Linked DNA regions of Homo sapiens: region 2 is linked to region 1. Evidence: promoter capture Hi-C in 16 types of primary human blood cells and fetal thymus (Javierre and others, 2016). All regions are on one chromosome and are shown on one strand. Each heading gives the region's core, a stretch centred on a gene start or on the middle of the fragment in contact. The rest is flanking DNA. Distances are from core to core; before and after follow the strand shown. Region 1 holds the start of IFIT5 (interferon induced protein with tetratricopeptide repeats 5). Region 2 overlaps LOC105378419 (a long non-coding RNA gene).

Region 1 (7,031 bases), core at 2,091-4,590:
CTTTTCCCCTTCAGCTTCTGCATGTACATCTTGAAGCTTCAGTGCCAGAAAAACCTTAATATAGCTGTTATCTGGGTTCAGGGTAACAGCCTTTCTCAAAGGCCCCAGAGAAAAGCTCTTTACAGACCCTTCTCTATCAGAATCATCCAGCCGATACACTGTGATAGCATAGCCGATGTTAAATTCTGGATTGTCAGGCTCCACTTCCAGAGCCTTCTCAAAAGCCGCTTTAGCCTTTTGATAATACTTTCCTCCAAATTTCAAGAGTGCCCAGCCTTTCTCACAGTCAGTCTCAGGACACTCCAACTTGTAGTTAGAAGGACTGGACAATTTCTTACAGACATTCCCTATCTTACCTGTATACTTCTGAGCTTCTTCAAGCTGGTCCATGTGATAATACACCCAGGCATAGTTTCCCCAAGTGACCAGGCTTCGTACTTCTTCTTTGTCTGAGTGTTCTTGCTGGATTATTTCTTCTGCTTGTTCCAAGCACTCAAGGGCGTCTTTATTTTGGCCTTTTAGGTGTTTCACATAGGCCAATAGGTTATAAAGAGCAAGTCTAGATTTTGTGGTAAGAAATTCAAGCTGTTGCCCAATTGTATCTTCTACCTCAAACAGATCAATGTCTTCCTTAAGTAAATTCCATGTAAAATGACATTCTAACTCCAACAGAATGGCCTTCAAGGTGTCCTTACGAATTTCACTGTCAAAGATAAAATACTTTTTAATTTTTGAAGAAATACAAGAAATAATTTTCTAAACCTTAAATATTGTTCTTTGCATAACAACTAATTTTATCCCTATTTGATCTTACAGTTAAAACATAAGTTTCCCATAACTTTATACTAGAGTTTCTTCTATATACAGTTATGTCCTAGAAATATTTCATTTAAATTCTCACTATTTATTGCAAAAACAGTTCTGGAGAGATGACAGAGCTTTCTGTATTACATGTATCTATTTCCTTTTGGCAATCACTAAACCATTGAAAATTAGGAATGAATATATACATATTCAATAATTAATATGAAAATTCCATTTTTGTATTATGAGTACTGATCCTGACTAGGAAACCTGGTAAAATTGCTCCTTGGTAATTGTTCCTTTCTCTAGTGTAATTGTACCAAAAATATGGGCAAGACATGCCATGTCCTTACAGCCTGCTTAAATCCACAACAACATGGCTTTACCAGCCCCCTGCCTAAAACAAACACCTGTTTTGAAGGTCTCTACCAGCCCAGCCCAAGGAGGATGAGGAGGGCTGCTCAGGTATTATGGATTTGGTTGTAAGATCTCAAAGGGACATTCAATCAGGTACTGACGTGGTTTGTCCAGGCTCTGGAATTTATGCACAACTGGACACCATGAGAATTTTTATTGTTTAAACTTTGTCTACTTAATTTTGTAACTTTGTCTTTGGGAAGCTAATAAGAGAGAAGCTATTGCATCAGAAGAGGTAACACGTATCTTTCGGTAATTCTGTTCTTCTGCTAGGAAGAAGCAGACTTTCATTGTCCTTGGGAGACAGTCCCCAATGGGGCTGAGCCCTTTTCCTCCCCATCCTGCATATATACGGTGCACGCCACCGTCTTTTTCTGTTTTTTGTTGTTGTTGTTGTTTTGTTGTTGTTGTTGTTGTCAAGCCCCTTCCTGATAGCACTCTCCTTTCTTACAAATGTTAGATGTGGCCAGGCGTTGTGGCTCACGCCTGTAATCCCAGCACTTTGGGAGGCTGAGGCGGGTGGACCACGAGGTCAGGAATTCGAGACCAGCCCGGTCAACATGGTGAAACCCGCGTCTCTACTAAAGATACAAAAAATTAGCCAGGCGTGGTGGCACACGCCTGTAATCCCAGCTACACGGGAAGCTGAGGCAGGGGAATGGCTTGAACCCGGGAGGCGGAGGTTGCAGTGAGCCGAGATGGAGCCATTACACTACAGCCTGGGTGACAGGGCGAGACTCCGTCTCAAAAATAAAGTTAGATGTGTGGGTGGCACTTAAACTTTTTTTTTAAACTTATAATGGGAATAATTAACATTTATTGTGCAAGTATTATGTGCTAAGCAGTCAACTGATAGGATTTATTACTGTCCTTTTCCACAGTCCCAAGAGATGGACACCATTAATTTTTACAAATAAGGAACAGACTCACAGAGTTTGAGAAACTTTGGGATCACTCAACTAGTAGGAGTTCAGTCCGGATTTAGAACAAGGGACTATCTGCTTTTAGAGCCCAAGACCTTAACATCTCATTCCTCAACTCATTAAATGCGGAAGGTTCACTAACCACGTGCAGGGCGGGGTGCTAGCCCCTGGGGATACAAAATGATCAAGAAAAGGACGCCATCATACTAAATCAGTAAAGGAAACAGATAAAGAAATCCTCATAAAACAGCGGATTGGGTGGGACGATAACAATCTGTGCTTGGTACAGAGGTAGCTCCTGGGAAGGGAAGAACTCAGACCCAGAAATCAGAAACGCAAACTGGCAGTGGCAGGCGAACCTGACGCCTGCAGGGCTGCGGCGAAACCGCGTATGCCACACCGAGGGAATGGCAGCTGGAAAGAGAGGCACGCGACAGGCCTAAGGAGACCCGTGGCACGTAGCAGCTGCCCCCGGAACAGCGCCTGGGGGCTCTGCAGGCGCTGACCAGTTTCCCGGAGGCGGCGGCCGCGGACCCAGCACGGTCACCGTCGCCGCTGCCGAGAAGAGCCGTCGGGTCGCGATGGGTGGACAGGCCTTCCGGGGGAGCGTCGCCCGGCACATACCCTGACAGTCCCGACCGCAGACGCCAGGGATGGGACAGGCTCCCGGGGAGCATCTCCTGTTCCTCCTCCCTGACCGGCCTTCTTAGGCGCTGGGGAGGGGCCGGACTCCCGAGAAGCGTCCACTCGGCCACCCTCCCCGGCAGGCCCGACTTCAGACGCCGCGCGCCGGGACAGAGCGCCCGGGGAGGGTCCCCAACGCAGATGCCCGGTTGCTGGGCGCGAGGGGCTCGGCCCCTGAAAAGGCCGCAGAACTGCGCTGGAAATGAATAAAAGCAGCCCGGTTTGAAACCAAGGCCGACGCAGGGCTTGGGAGGAGAGGCAAAGGAAAACCCTTACCTCATGATGGCAGCGCTCTGCAGGCCGTCCGGGCGGCGCAGTCCCTCGGATCGCTCTCTCCTCAGCACCGGGGACCGCGGGAAGCCGCGCGGTGGGCGTGCGCGTGCGCGTGCGCGCGCCAGGCCTCTGCAGCCCCTGGACTCGGCCGCGCGGCGTGTCTTTGTTAAAGGAGAGACCCCAGCCCCAGCAAGAACAGGAAACTGGAGATTGAATCAGATGCCGAGCGCTCAGAAACTGAAACTTAAGAAATCGAAACTAAACGTAAGCTTCAGAAACCGAAACTTAATAGAAGAGCTCAAGAGCCGCGGCCAGACGTTTGCGGAGTCCAGGGTCTTTCGGAGTTGAATTTGCAGCTGGGCTCCTTCACTTTGGTCTCGGCTTTTATCTGCCTCCCTGAGTACGCTGAGTTCGCATGCTGCCCGTGTAACTGTTTGTTTGTTTGTTTGTTTGTTTGAGATAGCGTCTCACTGTGTCACCCAGTCGTGATCTCAAGGGATGCGCCCGCCTCTGCCTCCCAAGGTGCTGGGATTACAGGCGGAAACTTAAGTCCCTGCTTCCACTCCAGTCTTTTGATTCAACAAGCAACACTGCAATGCTATACATCTATGCTGTTATTTCTGTTGGGTGTAAACTGAGAAATTTGGAGCTAAAATCTATATACATTTTAAGTTTTGACGGATATTGCCAAATAGCTTTAAAAATCCACTCTTACCCACAATTGTAGGAGACTGCTTCTCTTCCATACCTTCGCCAATGGTGCTTTGTAATAAGGACCCAATAAAGACAAGAGTGGTATTGGGGATCTAGGCAGAAAATGTCAAACACCCATACCTTAAACATTTTGTCCCCTTTGAATTCATTCAGCAAATATTGACAAACAACTGTAAGAGCCAGACTTTGTTCAAAGTACTGTCAATATAACAATAAAGAAAACAGACACGGGCCTTACCCTTATTGAGTTAATGTCTGTATTCAAAACCTCAATATCCTGTCCATAATTCATCTTTTGCATTGATTTTGGTTTTTTTTTTTTTTTTGAGACAGGGTCTCACTCTGTCACTCAGGTTGGAGTGCAGTGGTGAGATGACAGCTCACTGCAGCCTCAACCTTCATGGCTCAAGCGATCCTCCCACCTCAGCCTCCTGAGTGGCTGGGACTATATGCGTGCACCACTATGTCGGGCTAATTAATTTATTTTTTGTAGAGGCGGGGTTTTGCCATGTTGCCCAGGCTGGTCTCCAACACCTGGGCACAAATATTTTTCTAAACCTTAAATATTGTTCCGCCCATCGTGGCCTCCCAAAATGCTGGGATTACAGGCATGAGCCACTATGCTTGGCCTGATTTTGAATTTTTAAAAACATATTGCATTGAAATATTGTCTACCTTGATCACTGAGCTTCTGGCACCCCACCCCTCAAAACTTAGTGCCTGAAGCGAGTGCCTCATTTAAAGCAATCACTTCTAACAGTTGTACTGTCTTATACAGAAACTGCTGGTCACCTGTGGCTATTAAGAACCTGATTTTTAATTTAATATAAATTTAAAAACTGATAAGTTAATAGAAAACTTACATTTGGAATAACTTAGGTATACGAATCTGCTTTTTATAAGTTGCAAATTTTATGAACTCTAAATACAGAGCAAGTATTTCCAGTGATTATCCTCAGCAAACTAATGCAGGAACAGAAACCAAACACTGCATGTTCTCACTTGTAAGTGGGAGCTAAATGATGAGAACACACGGACACAGTGGGGAACAACACACACTGGGGCTTGTTGGAGTTGGGGGTGGTGGGAGGGAGAGCATCAAGAAGTATAGCTAAGTGATGCTGAGCTTAATACGTAGGTGATGGTGTGTCCGGAATTGGTTCCTTCCAGTAGGTTTTTGGTCTTGGTGACTTCAAGAATGAAGCTGCGGACTCTCGCTGTGAGTGCTACAGTTGTTAAAGATGGCGTGTCTGGAGTTTGTTCCTTTCGATGTTCAGATGTGTCTGGAGTTTCTTCCTTCTGGTGAGTTCGTGGTCTTGCTGACTTCAGGAGTGCAGCTGCAGACCTTCACAGTGAGTGTTACAGATCTTAAAGGTGGCGCGTCCGGAGTTGTTCGTTCCTCCCGGTGGGTTCGTGGTTTCACTGACTTCAGGAGTAAAGCCGTAGACCTTTGTGGTGAGTGTTACAGCTCATAAAGGCAGTGTGGACCCAAAGAGTGAGCAGCAGCAAGATTCGTTGCGAAGAGCGAAAGAACAAAACTTCCACGACGTGGAAGCAGACCCGAGCAGGTTGCCGCTGCTGGCTGGGGTGGCCTGCTTTTATTCCCTTATTTGGCTCCACCCATATCCTGCTGATTGGTCCATTTTACAGAGAGCTGATTGGTCCACTTTACAAAGTGCTGATTGGTCCATTTTACAGAGTGCTGATTGGTCCATTTTACAGAGTGCTGATTGGTCCATTTTGACAGAGTGCTGATTGGTGCGTTTACAAACTTTTAGCTACACACAGAGTGCTGATTGGTGCGTTTACAATCCTTTAGCTAGACAGAAAAGTTCTCTGAGTCCCCACCTGACCCAGAAGCCCAGCCAGCTTCACCTCTCAATCCCCCCTCTAAACAGGACACCCCAATTGCTGATGGGAATTTGGCTGATGACTGCTCTAGCTACTTTCTGCTGGATAGGGGCGAAGAAGGGGCCCTGTAGGTGTAGTGTCCTCCAGAGGGGAACTCTTTAGGCCAGTGGAAGGGCCAGCAGGTCAGTCCAGGGGTCCTCGGTAGAAGTTGTTAGTTGAACTCATTTGGGGTTCCATTTGTAAGACCATCTGTAGCTTGAGGGCCTCAATTCTAGAGGAAACAAATTTGACAAGAAGGTTAAAAACACAGGGCCCAAAGACAAGTAACAGCAAGATGGCTGCCACAGGACCTAGAAAGGGGAGAAGCCATGTTGCCCAACTCCAGAGGTTGGTATAAGAGTTTGAAAGGTGTTGTCTGATTTCAGAAGCCTTTTCCTGTAAACACCGGGTGGCATCTCGTGCTATCCCTGACTGGTTAGTGTAAAAACAACACTCTTCCCCTAAGAAGCTGCACAGTCCTCCTTTCTCAGCAGTGAGGAGGTCTAGGCCTTGGCGATTTTGGAGAGTCGCTGCTGCCAAAGAGTCTGTTTGGGATTGTAGAGTAAGGATAGATTTCATTATTTCATGCAAACTGTCTGAGAAATCCTTTGAGAGTGTATGGTAGTAGGATAATGCATGTTACACTGTTAACTTTTAGCAAACTTTACGTTAGTTGAAAACCTTGTAAGTTTGGGATTTCAATTATTCTTTGCTATTAGTAAGACCTCGTTCAGTCCATATTAACTTAGAATTGGTATAGATGGCTCCTTCCTGATTCTGTAAGTATTTTAAGGTTTGGCTGAGTGCAAACAGCTGACACATTTGAGCAGACCAATTATTAGGCAATTTTCCTAACACTGCTTCTACAAGAGTTTCCTTATTATTTACTGAATACCCATTGTGTTTTTTTTTTCCTTAATTGCCCAGGAGGAACCATCTATCCGTCCTGTCCTGAAGGGAGTTCCTCCTAGATCTGGTCAGACCTTTGTATGGGAATTAATTAAGATTTAGATCCCCTGTTAGGAAACCTGCTGGGTAAGGATTTTTGATAGGAAGGCTACTGGTTGTCAGTGGCCTCAGTGCTTTCAGGCTACGCCCTTGTTTACACTGACAGCAAGGTGGTATTGGAGTGTTATAGGGTTTCTGAGAAGACCTTCAGTTATCAATTATAGGTTTTAAATTTACCCTGGCTTTTAAAGGAATAGGGTACACTGTTTTTTCTTTACTACTTCTATCTCTCTCTTTGACTTCTTCGTCTCTCTCTTCCTCTCTCTGTCTCTCTCTCTCTGACTTTCTGTCTCTTTCTTGCTTTCCTTTCTGCTGGTG
Region 2 (7,031 bases), core at 3,978-6,477, 120 kb after region 1:
GTATCTATTATTCTATTCTCAATGTCCATGAGATAAAGTTTTTTAGCTCCCACATTTCAGTAAGAACATGCAGTATTTGTCATTCTGTGCCTGGCTTATTGCATTTAACATAATGGTCTCCAGTTCCAACTACATTGCTGCAAATTACATGATTTCATTCCTCTTTAATGGCTGAATAATATCCCATTGTGTATATATACAATATTTTCTTTATCCATTTGTTCACTGATGAGCACCTATGTTGATTTCATATCTTTGCTATTATGAATAGTGGTGTGATGAACATGTGAGTGCAGGTATCCTTTTGATTTACTGATTTATTTTCCTTTGGATAGACATCCAGTAGTGTGATTGCTGGGTCTTATGAAAATTCTATTTTTAGTTTTTTGAGAGCTTTCCATACTGTTTTCCATAATGACTGTACTAATTTACATTCCTACCAACAGTGTATAAGAGTTCCCTTTCCCCTGCATCCTTGCCAGCATTTGTTATTTTTTTTTTTAATAATAGCCATACTAACTGGGGTGAGATGATATCTCATTGTGATTTTTATTTGCATTTCCTTGGGGTTGAGTGATGTTGAGTATTTTTTCATATGCCTGTTGGTCACATATACCAGAGCTCCTTTATAGGTGATGAGATGCTTTTCCTTTGCTGTCTTTAAAATTTTCTTTTTGTCACTGACTTTAGATAGTTTGACTATAATGCGCCATGGAGAAGAACGTTTTTCACTGTATCTGATTGGGGATTGCTGGGCCTCCTGTATCTGGATGTCTAAATCTCTTACTAGACTTGGGAAGTTCTCATCTATTATTTCATTACATAGGTTTTCAAACCCTTTCAGTTTCCCTTCGCCTTTGGAGATACTGATAATTCATATATTTGGTCACCTTATGGTGTCCCATAGATCGTGAAGACTTTGTTCATACTTTTTAATTCTTTTTTTTTCTTTATTTTCGTCTTATTGGATTATTTCAAAAGACCTGTCTTCAAGTTCTGATGTTTTCTCTTCTGCTTGGTCTAGTCTACTGTTGAAGCTTCTTGTATATTTTGTATTTCATTCAAGGAATTCTTCAGTTCCAGAATTTCAGTTTGGTTATTTTTATGATACCTATTTCTTTGGCAAATTTCTCATTCATATCCTGAATTGTTTCTCCGATTTCTGTGTATTGTTTGAATTGTATTGGATTTGGAAATCTCTTGTATCTTGCTGAGCTTCTTTAGTATTTTTTATATATACATATATATTATTTTTTTATTTTTTATTTTTTTGAGATGGAGTCTCACTCTGTTGCCTAGGCTGGAGTGCAGTGGTGCGATCTCTGCTCACTGCAACCTCTGCCTCCCTGGTTCAAGTGATTCTCCTTCCTCAGCCTCTCGAGCTGGGATTACAGGCATGTACCACCGTGCCTGGCTAATTTTTGTATTTTTAGTAGAGATGGGTTTTCACTATGTTGGCCAGGCTGGTCTGGAACTCCTGACCTCAGGTGATCCACCCTCCTTGTCCTCCCTAAGTGCTGGGATTACAGGTGTGAGGCACTGTGCTTAGTATAATTTTGAATAGTTTTTCCTGGATTTCTTTTTGATTGGGATCTGTTGCTGGGGAATTGTATTCCTTTGAAGGTATCATATTTCCTTGCTTTTACATGCTTCCTGTGTCCTTTCACTGATATCTGAGCATCTAATATAATAGTCACTTCTTTCAATTTTTGAATTTGCTTTTGTAGGGGAGGACTTTTTCCTGAAGATATATCAACAATATTGGTTGAGTAAGGCACTTCAACTTTGATTCTGAGTGTGCATGGTAGTGTAGCCTCTGTACAATTTATTTGGCTGTGATCAGTGATATATATGATTTCCTTGATGGTTTAGGGTGGGGTTTATTCTTGGAGGCTATCGTGACATTTTACTGGGAACAGGGTTGCCATGTGGGCCAGTCTTCAGGCCCCAGTGGTGGCAGCAGTGGGTTGAGGATGTCTGATCTTCGGCCCCAGAACAACATACACTGGCACTGGTGTTAGTGGGACCAGGTAGGCTAATTCCTGGGCCCCCAGATAGCTTGCTCAGATGCTGATAGTGGCAGCAGTGGGCCAGGTGGGTGAGTGGGTTCTCAAGTCCCTGGGCAGCTGATGTGATCTGGGCAATGGCAGTAGCCAACGGTGGGACAAACCCTTGGGTTCTGATAAGTGTACACTGATGTTGGCAGTGGCTGTGGTGCAGGGTTGCCACCTATACCACAGACACACAGCTCTCAGGCTCTTTCATTCTCTGTAATAGCAACCCCGCAGCACTGTGCAGAGAGAGGAGAGACGCTGTTCTTTAGGTGTGAGCCTAGGCACAGAGGCCATGCGTCCAGTGGGGGTGCAGTCACCACTCACAGCACCAGACAGGCGGCCATCTGGCTTCCCTGCCCCAGCCTCTGGTAGTAGCATCAGTGGCTGTGCCTGCAGCAGTGTGTAGAGGACAAGAAGGGGCTCTGCTCTCTACATGTAAGCCCAAGCACACAGCCTGCTTCACTAGTGGGAGAGTATCTCACTATCCACTTGTGAGGCCGAGTACAGAGTTTGTGGTGCTGCTAAGGGTAGGGTCACTTCTCACAGCCCCAAACAGGAGGCTCTGGAAAGGACATGTTTTAGTTTCCTTTGTATCAGGGGCTGTCTTTTTGGCACATTGCACCATTCTTTCCCTGGGGAGTAGTACTCCCTGTGGGCTGGGGTGCTGCGGACACTGTATTACCTTTGGGTCTAGCCAGTGCTGTGTCACTGTAGCCCACTGGGTGGATACTGGGAAATATCACTGGGGGCTCCTGGGATATGGAGATATGGGAGCTGCGGTTCCCAGGATAGGATGTAATTCCATGACTATAGTCTCACAATGGTGCCGCTTAGGTCTTGGGGGAGCTGAGAGACCCAGCGTGAGTTCCCTGTCTCATGAAATACCCTTGTGGGGTCTCCAAATCACCACCCATACTGGTGTCAGAGTTTGTATGGGTAGAGAAACTCTCTCATGTTTCAGATTGCAGCAGTTTGCAGGAGGGATGTGGACTGCTGAAGTTCTCTCATTTGACCTTTCCCTGAAATGCCAAGGCCCTCTGTTATCCTGGCCAATCTCAGCCAAGCTGGCCACTTGATACCTTCTTCTTCTGCGCCTTGGGTGTTTCCCATGACTTCTCTGTTGAATTCTAGTGTTGTCTCCTAGATGTTCTATTCGAGGTATAATTATCTATTCATAATTTTGGTTCTTCTTTCTAGAGAGGGTGGGTGTCTGATGTCTCTAGTCAGCCATCCTGAACCAGAATCCCCACCATATTTTAAATCCCTGCTTGTTGCCCTGGTATTTGACATCCCCAAATCACAATGTACAGCCATAGTGTTTTGTAATGATAGAAGAAATGTATTTTCCTTATTCATACCCTTAGTCACAAAGGGGGTAATCATGTATATAGGCCCAAAAGAAAATAATAGTACCTCAAAGATTGAGGTCAGAAAATTACACAAAGCACAGATAGAACACATTCTCCAGCAAAACTGAGGTTGTTAAGGTAGGTTATTCAGTCTTGGGAAAAGTTATTTACCATAATTTTTTTTCTGCCTAGGGCAGGGAGGAAAAAGAAACTATCCTTCCTAAAAAGTCTCCACCCTTTGATTAGGATGCACAGCTAAGCCTGTCCCAGTTGGAAACCCTTACTTTTGTGTCTTACGCAAGAGTTTCAAGTTCCTTTTCTGTTTACAAGTTCTTCTTCTTCTTCTTTTTTTTTTTTTTTTTGAGACAGTCTCGCTCTGTTGCCAAAGCTAGACTACAGTGGTGAGATCTTGGCTCTCTGCAACCTCTGCCTACCGGGTTCAAGCAGTTCTCGTGCCTCACCCTCCCAAGTAGCTGGCTACTTGGCCCAGCTACCAGGCCCAGCTGATTTTTGTATTTTTAGTAGAGATGGGGTATTGCCATGTTGGCCAGTCTGGTCATGAACTTCTGGCCTTAAGGGATCTGCCCGCCTTGGGAAGCACTCCCAAAGTGCTAGGATTACAGGCATGAGCCACAGTGCCTGGCTTCTATTTACAAGTTCTATTAGGTACTTACAGAAATGTATGTTAGGTTTTTAAGAAATGCTGAAATAGGAAAGTGGAAATGCTGTGGGTTTGGTTTGATTTATTTTTTGAACTCAGTATTCAAGAAAACTATTGGATAGGAATTTTAAAATCTTGTGAATAAAGGTACTGGTTGGGGAGAAGCATAGAGAAAGGTTTTGCCATGGTCACTGTGCTTTGAAATGGTTGAGATACTGATTTACACTTCAGAAATTTGTATGGCTAGTGCCTGTATATAATGTTACCACAGCAGGTATGCATCAGCTGATTTAGTAGCTGGGTTAGTGTGAGACTATGCATGCAATGTGATTGCAAAATAGCAACTGAAAAGGAAAACCAACTTTCTCCTGGTGTTATTTCTATTTTGAGAAAATGAAACTTATTAGAAAGAGTTCTGCCTAACCTCGTTGCTACAAATATATATGTGTCTTTTTCCTGGAATATAGGCCCTGTTCATATTTCCTAGAACAATAGATTTCATTTATATAGAATATAGATTTGCTTCCTGTTCCTGGAATGGGTTACATCAACTACAGATGGTATAATGCAATAATTCTCATATTGCTACTTGCCACCAGCAATATCAGCATCACCTGGAAGTGCAAATTCTTAGGCCCCATTCTAGACTGATAGAATCAGAAATTCCAGTGTGGGACCCAGAAATCTAGGTGTTGATAAGCCTTCCAGATAATTATAATGGATGCTAAAGTCTGAGAACCAAATAATATATTGAATGTAAGCAAAAATACTTTTACTTCTATAAAATGAAACTCTATGCTTTTTCCTTGAGATTTTTTAAAAAATTTGACCCTCTTTTTTGTTTTGAGTCTATTTTTAACTGAAGTTTTGTCCACCTAGAAGAGCTGGTGACTGTTCAATAGTATTCGCACTTGTTAGAGGAATACTTAGGTAGCCCAGTGGGTTCTCTTGATCCCCACAATGGGCTGTAATTTGAAAACAATGTGTTCCCACCTATATGACATTCCCTTCTGTACTCATTCACAAATACACGTTTAAAATGGTCTTCCACATGAACTTCAAAAATATTGATATAGTTAATAAAATAGCTCCCCATTCTTTTTTCCTTTCCATTCCTTTCCTTTCCTTTCCTTTCCTTTCCTTTCCTTTCCTTTCCTTTCCTTTCCTTTCATTTCATTTCCTTTCCTTTCTTCCTTTTTTTCTTTTTTCTTTTCAGACAGAGTCTTGCTCTGTCACCCAGGCTGGAGTGCAGTGGCGCAATCAGAGCTCACTGTCGCCTTGACCTCCCTCCCAGGCTCAAGTGATCTTCCCACCTCAGTCTCCTGAGTAGCTGGGATCACAGATGAGTGCCACTACACCCAGCTAATTTTTTATTTCTTGTAGAGATAGGGTCTCACTATGTTTCCCAGGCTGCTCTCAAACTCCTGGGATCAACTGATCTTCCTGCTTCAGCATCCCAAAGTGCTGGGATTACAGGCATAAGCCACAGCACTTGGCCAGCTCCCCATTCTTATTCTTTTTTCAAAAATTAATTAAACACCATTTCTTCTTGCTGTGGTTTGAATATGTCCTCCAAAGTTCATGTGTTGGAAACTTGATCCCCAATGTGGCAGTGTTGGGAGGTGGGACCTAATGGGAGGTATTTGGGTTATGGGGGCATTGTCCTCTTGAATAGATTAATGCCATTATTGAGGGACGGAGTTCCATATAAAAGGATGACTTCAACCTTCTCTTGCTCACCCTCACCCCCTATTTACCCTTCCATCATGGGATGACCCAGTAAGAGGGCCCTGGCCAGATGTGGCCCCTTGATCTTGGACTTTCCAGCCTCCAGAACCATGTGTCCATAAATGTCTGTTCATTATAAATTACCCAATCTCCCAATCTGCCCATCTGTGGTATTCTGTTATAGCAGAAAAAAATGGACTAAGACATTTTTCAGCATTAATTTTTTAGACTGCAGTTGGGCAGTCTTTGAGTGGAAACTTGATGCGGGTAAATGACTTTATCTTTCCATAGTCCTATTCAGAAATAAGACCATGCTAAATAAACTTCTGCTGGGACAATTTGTACACTTATCCCTGTTAGAACACTAGGAGTATTTGTTTCATTCATTCATTCACCATTCGTTCATCAAATCAATACTTACTGAGAATCTACTATGTGCCAGGCACCATTCTAGGCTCTTAAGATACATCAGTACACAAAGATCTCTGTCTTCATGGAGCTTATATTCTATCAGGAAGAGATGGCAATAAACAACTGCTTTGGACTGAATTGAGTTCCCAACTCCTTTCCCAAAATTCATCATTGAAGCCCTAACCCTCAACGTAACTTTGTTTGGAGATAGGGCCTGTGAGGAGGTATTTAAGGTTAAATGAGGTCTTAAGGGTGGGGCCCCTAATCTGGTAACCCCTAATCTGGTAACACTGACGTCTTCATACAAACAAGAAGAAAAAGAAGAGACCTCAGATATCTCTCTCTCTCTCTCTCTCTCTCTCTCTCTCTCTCATCTCACACAGAGGAAAGGCCATGTGAAGATAAAGAAAAGGCTGCCATCTCCAGGTCAGGAAGAGAGGTCTCACCAGAAACCAACTTGGACTTCTAGCATCTAGAACTGTGAGAAAATAGATTTCTGTTGCTTAAGCCACCTAGTCTGTGATTTTTCATTATGGCAGCCAATGTAGACTAATACAATAATAAATAAATTAGACAATATGGGACAAGTCCATGGGGAAAAAAAAGAGTAAGTGGAGACCGTAAGAGGAATTACATATGGGTGGAGAAAAGGGGGCCGGGATCTGGCTGCTGCTGTTAAGTAATAGAGATGGAAACTGTGTTAGTCTGTTCTCATACTCTAGAAAGATACTACCTGAGACTGGGAAAGAGGTTTAACTGAATCACAGTTCCATGGGGAGGGCTCAGGAAACTTGCAATCATGGCAGAAGGCAAAGGGGAAGCAAGGCA

The links. The method cuts DNA at HindIII sites, captures the fragments that hold promoters and counts their contacts. A CHiCAGO score of 5 or more calls a contact.
Region 2: a contact is called between a fragment that was not itself captured here and the fragment with the promoter of IFIT5 in region 1, in 11 of 17 cell types (neutrophils, naive CD4 T cells, total CD8 T cells and 8 more). The highest score is 9.5, in neutrophils.

The regions. Positions count from the first base shown.
Region 1 is chr10:89,410,877-89,417,907 of GRCh38, reverse strand. IFIT5 (interferon induced protein with tetratricopeptide repeats 5) reads right to left here and starts at 3,340. Exons shown (of 2, transcript NM_012420.3): 1 at 3,105-3,340; 2 at 1-703. The coding sequence starts at 3,109. It also overlaps a transcript of LIPA not described here. RefSeq lists enhancers at 2,294-2,363, 2,464-2,563, 3,174-3,483. The HindIII fragment of the contact is 3,334 bases long and covers 39-3,372 here.
Region 2 is chr10:89,293,224-89,300,254 of GRCh38, reverse strand. It overlaps LOC105378419 (a long non-coding RNA gene), which reads left to right. Exons shown (of 3, transcript NR_188200.1): 2 at 6,587-6,683. It also overlaps a transcript of LIPA not described here. Among named protein-coding and RNA genes, the nearest start is that of IFIT2, 5.3 kb to the left of the region's middle. The HindIII fragment of the contact is 8,375 bases long and covers 1,040-7,031 here.